Linked DNA regions of Homo sapiens: region 1 is linked to region 2. The links are contacts of gene promoters, found by promoter capture Hi-C in human tissues and cell types (Jung and others, 2019). All regions are on one chromosome and are shown on one strand. The core of a region is centred on a gene start or on the middle of the fragment in contact, and the rest is flanking DNA. Distances in the headings are between cores, read along the strand shown.

Evidence for each region. Contacts are between HindIII fragments. The study calls those that stand out against the background at their distance.
Region 1: a fragment that was not itself captured here is called in contact with the fragment with the promoter of CACNG6 in region 2 in 2 of the 25 tissues and cell types used here (neural progenitor cells and spleen).

Annotation. Positions count from the first base shown.
Region 1 is chr19:53,843,943-53,848,693 of GRCh38, reverse strand. No RefSeq gene overlaps it. Among named protein-coding and RNA genes, the nearest start is that of MYADM, 22 kb to the left of the region's middle. The HindIII fragment of the contact is 5,768 bases long and covers 1-4,191 here.
Region 2 is chr19:53,990,059-53,994,727 of GRCh38, reverse strand. It overlaps CACNG6 (calcium voltage-gated channel auxiliary subunit gamma 6), which reads right to left and starts at 3,091. Exons shown (of 4, transcript NM_145814.2): 1 at 1,520-3,091. The coding sequence starts at 1,850. It overlaps CACNG8 (calcium voltage-gated channel auxiliary subunit gamma 8), which reads right to left. Exons shown (of 4, transcript NM_031895.6): 4 at 4,513-4,669. The HindIII fragment of the contact is 43,229 bases long and covers 1-4,669 here.

The sequences.
Region 1 (4,751 bases), core at 58-2,557, 140 kb after region 2:
AATGAAGCTACACTAGCTAATGGGAAATTCCCTCACTCGGCAAGTATCCTAGAGTGCATTGTGCCCTGTTACAGACGGGCACTGCAGATACAGCCATGAAGAAAATAAAGTCCTCTAGGCCGGGCGTGGTGGCTCATACCTGTAATCCCAGCATTTTGGGAGGCCGAGGTGGGAGGATCACTTGAGCCCAGGTGTTCAAGACCAGCCCGGGCAACATGGCAAAACCCCCGTCTCTACTAACAATACAAAAACTGAGCTGAGTGTGGTGGTGCACGCCTGTAGTCCCAGCTACTCGGGAGGCTGAAGCGGGAGAATCGCTTGAACCCGGGAGGCAGAGGGTTGCAGTGAGCCGAGATCACAGCACTGCACGCTCCAGCCTGGGTGACAGAGTGAGACTGTCTCCGGAAAAAAAAAAAAAAAGAACAAAGTCCCCTTAGCCAGACATGGTGACTCATGCCTGTAATCCCAGCACTTTGGGAGGCCGAGGCAGTGGTTCACCTGAAGCCAGGAGTTCGAAACCAGCCTGGCCAACATGACAAGACCCTGTCTCTACAAAAAAAAGATACAAACATTAGCCGGGCATGATGGCATGTGCCTGTGGTCCCAGCTACTCGGGAGGTTGAGATGGGAGAATTGCTTGAACCCAGGGAAGTTAAGGCTGCAGTGAGCAGTGATCACATCACTGCCCTCCAGCCTGGGTGATAGAGACAGACCCTGTCTTAAAACAAAAACAAAAAAAGTCCCTGTCCTCATGGCATTCCTGCACTTTAAGGGAAGACCAATAATTACCCACAGGAACACACAGACATGTCACACTATGTCAGACAGTGACGTGTGTGATAAAGAAAAAAAGCTGGGCATGAGAGCAGGAGTAACCAATGCAATTCTAGGAGAGGTGACGAGAGAAAGCCTCTCCAGAGACAGTGCTTGATGTGGGGCCCGCATGCCTCCAAGGAGAGCATCTCTGGTGGAGGGAATAGCAGATCCGGATGCCTGGAGGTGGGAGTGTGTTTTGCCTGTTCTAAAAAGAGTAAAATGAACGCTGTGCTGGAGGAGAGTGAACGAGGGGAAGAGGAGTAAAACATGAGATCTGGCAGCCGGCAACGTTTGGAGAGAGGCATTTGGGAAACAGATCCCCAAGGACTGGGTTATGGAGCCCAGCTGGGCTCTCCATAAATACCGGGGAGACATAGGACACATGAGTTGACAGCTGTCACTCAGGTTGTCAACTGTGAGGTCCTCTACATCTGGCAAGCTCTGAACTCATAGGGTGTTTTTGAGAAATATAAGCGTGTATACAGTTGATCCTTGAACAACACGGGTCCGAACTGCGTGGGTCCACTTATCCAGGGATTTTCTTCCTCCTCTGCCACCCGGAGACAGCCTTCCTCTTCCTCTTCCTCCTCAGCCTACTCAACCTGAAGATGATGAAGATGAACACCTTTATGATGATCCACTTATACTTAATGAACAGTGAATATACTACTTTCTCCTTCTTATGATTTTCTTTCTTTTTTTTTTTTTTTTTTTTGAGATGGAGTGTCACTCTGTGGCCCAGGCTGGAGTGCAGTGGCGCAATCTCAGCTCACTGCAAACTCCACCTCCCAGGTTCAAGCGATTCTCCTGCCTCAGCCTCCTGAGTAGCTGGGATTACAGGCGCGTGCCACCAGGCCCAGCTAATTTTTGTATTTTTATTAGAAATGGGGTTTTACCATGTTGATAAGGGCTGGTCTCGAACTCCTGACCTCGTGATCCACCCACCTCGGCCTCCCAAAGTTCTGAGATTACAGGCGTGAGCCACTGTGCCCGGCCGCACACTGATTTTCTTGATAACATTTTCTTTTCTCTAGCTTCCTTTATTGTAAGAATATAGTATATTATACATAGAATATCAACTTTTTTTTTTTTTTAGGTAGGGTCTGGCTCTGTTGCCCAAGCTGAAGTGCAGTGGCACGATCTCGGCTCACTGCAACCTCCACCTCCTGCGATTTGGGGCCTCAGCCTCCCAAGTAGCTGGGATTACAGGTGAATGCCACCATGTCTGGCTAAATTTTTAGCAGAGGGTCTTACCATGTTTGCCAGGCTGGTCTTGAACGCCTGGCCTCAAGTGATCTGACTGCCTTGGCCTCCCAAAGTGCTGGGGTTATAGGTGTGAGCCACCACACCCGGCCTATTTTTTCTTTTTTCTATTTATTTATTTATTATTATTATTTTTTGAGACGGAGTCTCGCTCTGTCACCCAGGCTGGAGTGCAGTGGTGCAATCTCGGTTCACTGCAAGCTCCGCCTCCCGGGTTCACGCCATTCTCCTGCCTCAGCCTCCCGGTAGCTGGGACTACACGTGCCCGCCACCGCGCCCGGCTAATTTTTTTGTATTTTTAGTAGAGACGGGGTTTCACTGTGTTAGCCAGGATGGTCTCGATCTCCTGACCTCGTGATCTGCCCGCCTCGGCCTCCCAAAGTGATTACAGGATTACAGGCGTGAGCCACCGCGCCCGGCCTCTTTCTTTTTTTAATCTGATTTTCTCCTAGAGCCTTCGGATGAGACCTACCATTCTTTTATTTTATTTTATTTTATTTATTGTACTTGAATGTCAGTAGGGAAAGTATCTGAGTCACAGAGCACCAAAGTATGTTAGCAGCGGAGAATGCGTATGAGTCTGCAGCAACTTCCATTTTTGCCTCTTCAGAAGAAAGAATTCCACTGGGGGAATAAGGCAGGAGAGACCAAGGCAAGCTTTAGAGCATTAGTGAAAGTTTATTAAAAACTTCAGAACAGGAACTAGGCGGGCGCAGTGGCTCACGCCTGCAATCCCAGCACTTTGGGAGGCCGAGGCGGGCGGATCACAAGGTCAGGATTTCCAGACCCAGCCTGACCGATATGGTGAAACCCCATCTCTACTAAAAATACAAAAATTAGTTGGCCGTGCCGTGATGGTGGGTGCCTGTGGTCCCAGCTACTCGGGAGGCTGAGGCAGGAGAATCGCCAAACCTGGCAGGTGGAGGTTGCAGTGAGCCAAGATCGCGCCATTGCACTCCAGCCTGGGCAAAAGAGCAGGACTCCTTCTCCACAAAAAGAAGAAAGAGAGAAAGAAGGGAGGGAGGGAGGGAAGGAAGGTAGGAAGGAAGGAAGGAAGGAAAGGAGGGAGGGGCTGGGCACCGTGGCTCATGCCTATAATCCCAGCACTTTGGGAGGCCGAGGCGGGGCGGATCACCTGAGGTCAGGAGTTCGAGACCAGCCTGGCCAACATGGCGAAACCCCATCTCTACTAAAAATACAAAAATTAGCTGGGCGTGGTGGTGGGCGCCTGTAATCCCAGCTACTCAGGAGTCTGAGGCAGAAGAATCTCTTGAACCCGGGAGGTGGAGGTTGCAGTGAGCCGAGATCGCACCATTGCACTCCAGCCCAGGCGTCAGGGCAAGACTCCATCTCAAATAAAGAAGAAGAAAATGAAACTTTATATTGATAACCTGGATTTGCCTCATTCTTCAGTTTCTTAACTCCATGTGTATTTGGGGGCTGCTTTGCACATAGGGCCCTTTCACAGGAGGGGAAGGCTTGTTACACAGCAAAAGGTATTGGGCGCACTCCTGCGCAGGTTTCCTCTCCGCTCTGCTTCCCCTTTGTGGACCGAAACTGATGACAATACACACCTCGTGGGTTGTTGAGTGATTACGTAACTTAATGCATGTAAAGGGCTCAGATCATTGCCTGACACACAGTACGTGGTGCTCAGTAAATGTTGGTTGTTGTGGTTATATGCAATTATTCCAAAATCTGAAAAATCAGAAATCCGAAACGCTTCTGGCCCCAAGCATTTTGGATAAAGGATACTCAACTCTTATTTATATACTAAAATACTATTTACTTCATCCTTTCCTTAAAATACATATATTTCAGCCTGGGCAACATAGTAAGACCCCGTCTCTACAAAAAGATACAAAGATTAGTTGGGCATAGTGGTGTGCACCTGTAATTCCAGCCAGCTGGGGGGTTGAAGTGGGAGGATTGCTTGAACCTGGAAGGTTGAGGCTGCAGTGAACTGTGATCTTGCCACTGCCCTCCAGCCTGGACAACAGAGCAAGACCCTGTCTCAAAAACAAATAAATAAAAAACAAAAACCATATGTTTGCTTAAATTAAAAAAAAACACAAAAAACAAAACTTCGGCTGGGCACGGTGGCTCACACCTGTAATCCCAGCACTTTGGGAGGCCAAGGTGGGCAGATCACGAGGTCAGGAGATCGAGACCATCCTGAGTAACATGGTGAAACCCCGTCTCTTTTAACACACACACACACACACACACACACACACACACACACACACACACAAAAGCCAGGCGTGGTGGCGGGCACCTGTAGTCCCAGCTACTCGGGAGGCTGAGGCAAGAGAATGGTGTGAACCCAGGAGGCGGAGCTTGCAGTGACCCGAGATCATGCCACTGCACTCCAGCCTGGGTGACACAGCAAGACTCGGTCTCAAAAAAAACAAAACAAAACAAAACAAAAACCTTCAAGCAGCTATGACATAAGTGAGCACAGGTTTACTCATTAGTCTTTGTGTACGTATCAAAGAAAAACGTGAGCAAATATTTACATACCAAGTGTCCTGAAATTAGGATCAACTATATATTTATTCCATAACTTGTCATTGTAGAAGACATTATTTTTGTAGCATTTAGAGACTCATTTGAATAATTCAAATGATTATGAACTTGCAACCTGGAAACCATGACAGTTATGGACAGCT
Region 2 (4,669 bases), core at 1,842-4,341:
AAGATATCACATCTGGAGAAGTGAGGGACGAGGGAAATCTCATACGGAGCCCAGAAAAATAGGCCATATTCTTTGAGGGGCACTGGGATGATAGGACCGTCTTTGGAGACTGAAGAGTGCTGGAGATCTCATATGGGTGATCAAATATATGACAGCCCAAATGGGCTCTGAGGAGTGCCAGGTATTTTCCATGGGTCAGTGGAGGTAGAAGGAGATTTCATCCAGTTCCCAAGGGGTATAGAATGTCCCCCTGGTATAAGCACAAGCCGTGGCGTGGCGTGTCAGGGAGGTATGGAACAGCTCTCTGCCATGCCCAGGGATAAAACAGCCATGATTTGGGAAAGGAGGGAGTATGGGAATGTCTCTCGGAGAAAATGAGAAACGCTGAAATGTCCAGTCTGGGCATTTGGAGGCGAGAGGACAGGAAGTGAAGAACATTGCAGGGAAGGAACAAGGTCTGCCCTCGGGTGTTGGGAGGCGTCTGGTGAGAGCTTGGTTTGGTGGAAGCAGTAGGTGGGGAACAGGCATAGATCCTGCTTTGGGGTGGGCGTCTGTCTCCCCAGGGCTCACAGGATGGGAGCGCAAGCTGTCTCCAGGCTGGGAAGAGGAAGCTGACACCAGGAACCCAGGCTGTCTCTCCATGGGCACAGGCTGTCTGTGGGCACATGCAGAGTGGGCACGGGCTGTCTCCAGGGCACAGGCACTTCCAGAGGGTGCAGGCTGTCTGGGGTGGGCACAGGCTATCTGAGGACACCAGCTGTGTCTGGAATCACAGGCTGGGTCTGGGGACACAGGCAAGATTTTTCTAGTGACACAGGCTCTCTCTAGAGCTGTAGGCTGGTCTGGGGGGACACAGCGATGCCTGGGAACATTGGCTGTGTGGGGGCAGGGACTTTGGGGGTCATAGAATCATCTGGGACCATAGCCTGGTGTGGAGGTGCAGGCTGATCTGAGGGCACAGGCTGGTGTAAGGATGCAGGCTGGTCTGGGGGTATAGACTGGTCTAGGGGTGCATGTTAGTCTGGGGGTGGAAACTGTAGCTGGGGACACAGGCTCATCTGGGGGTACAGGATAGTCGGGGTACAGGATGGTCTTGGGGCACAGGCTGTAGGCGGGGGCACAAGCTCTCTTTAGAGGTGCAGAATAGGGGTACAGACTCGTCTGAGGGGGTCTCAGGTCACAGCCTGGTCTGGGGGTACAGGATGGCCTGGGGGCACAGACTCCCTGTAGGCACATTCTGGTCTTGGGGTACAGTCTGTAGCAGGAAAGCAAGCTCTAAGGCACAGGTTCTCTGGCGGTAGGCCCGTGAGGGACCTGGGCCATATCTGGGGGATCCCTCTATCTCTCAGCAGTTTCTGAGAGCAGAGGACGAAGTGGGCACTGGCGCTTACTGCGAGGCAAGCTGTCTCCTCCGGGCTCAGGCTTTTGTCCCTGGGGCGGGTTTTCTCCTCGGACACGGGCCCCTCTCCCTCCCTGTCCGTGGGACGCAAGCCCTGCGCTCGGGGCGGCGGCTGCTCACCTCCGGGCAGCTCCGCGGGGCCGCAGGTGTCCCTGTCCACGGGCACGTCCGCCTGCCACAGCCGCTTGGTGCACGCCTTCCACAGCCCCAGGTGGGCCGCTTCGCACACGGCGCTGCCGTTGGCCTTGTAGGTGTTGAGCTCCACCCAGAACTCGGTGCCCACGGACAGCACCGCCAGCGTGGCGCCCACGGCGGCCAGCAGCAGCGCCAGCTTCACCTTCCCCTCGCGCTCGGGCGTCAGCCCCGACCTGCCCTGCCCGTGCGCCCGCCGCCGGCCCGCGGCCCCCCGCCGCCGGTTCTCCTCTTGCAGGAAGAAGTTGGACCACATCATCTTATGGCCGGTGGGGTCGGGAAGGGGGAGGAGGCAGAGCCGGCGAAGGGCCTCGAGGGGCGGGAGCGAGGAGCGGCCTGGGGTCTTGAAGGGGGTGAGGGACTCAGTTTCCCCTGGGTATGAAAGAGGGAGAGCCGAGTCCTGTCTGGAATCTCAAATGCGAAAGTCGAGATTGCTTCTGGGGTTCAGAAGAGAAAAATGATCCCCAGGGCTGGGGAAGCCTCTGGGGTTCAGAGGAGGGTCTAGGTTGCCCTCAAGAACTTGGCAAAGAAGACGGGGCCCAGAGGAAAAACAAGGCCCCCACCCTGAGGTTTAGAGATAGAATTCGGCTTCCCAGGAGGGAGTCCCCCCAAGAGCTCCAGAGGAATGAGAACTGGTGCCCGCTGAAGCTCCCTGCAGCTCCAAGGGGCTGCTTTGGGGTCCCCGCTGGGGGGTTAACAAAAGGGAAACTGGTTTTCCTGAGAGATCTGAGCACCCCACTAGGGCTAAGAGTTTGGGGTACCCAGGAAGGGACCTGAGGTCCTGTGTGTGTTTGGAGGAGATGTGGCCGGGGTTCCCTTGGGCTCAGAGTTTGAGAACAGAGGACTTGGGGACCCTCTGGGATTCGGAAAAGGAAGACCTGGGGTCCCGGGAAGCTCCCAAGGGGAGGTCGGAATTCAATCCGGGTCTCAAGAGAGGCAGTAGGACCCCGGCATCCACAGAAGGAGAAGAACAGAGCCCTGGCTGGGGCTCAGAAGAGGACTGGGCCTCGCTGGAATTCAGGAAAAGGGGATAGGGGTCTCCCCTGCCATTCAGAAAAGATCCGAGGTCTCTACTGAGCCTGGAAAAGGGGCCGGTGGCCGGAAGACAGAGTGGAGTCCAGAGGCGGGAGGCTACGGGGCCTCCCCGAGGGCTGGGGCAGATGGGACCGGGGGCCCTCCTGGGGCTCACACTATGGGGCTGTGGTCCGCACTGCGGCTCGGAAAACCAGGACTGAGTCCCCCCAGGGTTCAAAGGCCAACCGCGACCCGCAAGAGACGCTGCGCCCCTTCGGGATCAGTCCGTCTCCCTCCCCCGGGCTCCCAGGGCCTTCCCGGTCGGGTTCGCGCCAGGCTCAGCCCCAGGCCAGGGCCCCCCCTCGGGGCTCCCACCCCCGACTCCCGAGCAGGGGCCCCTCTCGCTCTCCTGCCTCGGCCCCGCGCCGACCCCAGCTCCGCGCTGCCTCCGAAGCGTCCGGCTGTGCCCGCCACCGCCACCGGCCTGGCCTCCGCCCGCGCCCGGCCTCGTCCCCACCCGCCCACCCCCCACCCTCCACCCTCCACCCTCGGGGCTATTTCGGGCTTGACCCGTAAATAACACCCGCACCTGTCGCCCGGCGCCTGTTGCCATAGGGATCCCGGGTGTTTTAAGGGGACGAGGAAGGGGGGAGGGAGGCCGCCCGGGGAGGAAGGGGCCGAGCCTGATGGGACTTTCATTTCACTAAGGGGCAAGAGCGGCGCCGAGAGTCCCAGCTCCGCAGTCTCCCGGGCAGCAGGAGACGGGCGGGGCAGCAAGTCTGACTGGGGTTACCAGGGAGGAGGGGCGGGAGGCAGGGCCCCGGGTCTCAGGGAGGAGGGCCTGAGGCCAGGAGTCTTGGGTCCCTAAGGGAGAAGAAGCCTCGGTACCCCACTTCTGAGTGGTAGAGGAAGAAGGCCTGGGTACCCAGAATCTTGGATCTGAGAGGAGAGGAACCTGGTCTCCTAGGTCCTGGGCTCCTGAGTCTGAGGGAGGAGGGGCTGGGGGCCTGAACTCCTGGGTCTGAGGGAGGAGGGGCTGGGGTCTGGACTCCTGGGTCTGAGGGAGGAGGGGCTGGGCCTGGGCTCCTGAGTCTGAGGGAGGAGGGACTGGGGCCTGGACTTCTGGGTCTGAGGGAGGAGGGACTGGGGCCTGAACTCCTGGGTCTGAAGGAGGAGGGGCTGGGGGCCTGGACTCCTGGGTCTGAGGGAGGAGGGGCTGGGGGCCTGGACTCCTGGGTCTGAGGGAGGAGGGGTTGGGGGCCTGGGCTCCTGGGTCTGAGGGAGGAGGGGCTGGGGGTCTGGACTCCTGGGTCTGAGGGAGGAGGGGCTGGGGCCTGGACTCCTGGGTCTGAGGGAGGAGGGGCTGGGGGCCTGGGCTCCTGAGTCTGAGGGAGGAGGGGCTGGGGGCCTGGACTTCTGGGTCTGAGGGAGGAGGGACTGGGGCCTGAACTCCTGGGTCTGAAGGAGGAGGGGCTGGGGGCCTGGACTCCTGGGTCTGAGGGAGGAGGGGCTGGGGGCCTGGGCTCCTGGGTCTGAGGGAGGAGGGGCTGGGGGCCTGGGCTCCTGGGTCTGAGGGAGGAGGGGCTGGGGGCCTGGGCTCCTGGGTCTGAGGGAGGAAGGCCTGGGCCTGGACTCCTGGGTCTGAGGGAGGAGGGGGCAGGGGGCCTGGACTCCTGGATCTGAGGGAGGAGGGGCTGGGCCTGGACTCCTGGGTCTGAGGGAGGAGGAGGGCCGGGGAGCCTGGACTCCTGGTCAAGGCGTTGGCAGACCCAGAGTCCTGGGCCTCAGGGAGGAGACTGGGGCCAGAACCCTGGGTCTTGAAGGATGGAAGGCCTGATTTCCATGTTGGAGAAAGCGCAGGCCTCAGGGCAGGGCCGGCTGTCAGGGGCACAGAATGAAAGCAGCACTCCTCTTCATCGAGTTTATTAGACGGGGCACCCCTGGGGGACCTTCCATGCAGTTTCAGCTCCCCCAGGAGCAGGGACAGAGGACAGCCGTGTGGCATGGCGGCAGGGCCTGATCTTCAACCCCTCACCCCCTACCCCTCAGCCCTTCTGTGGACGG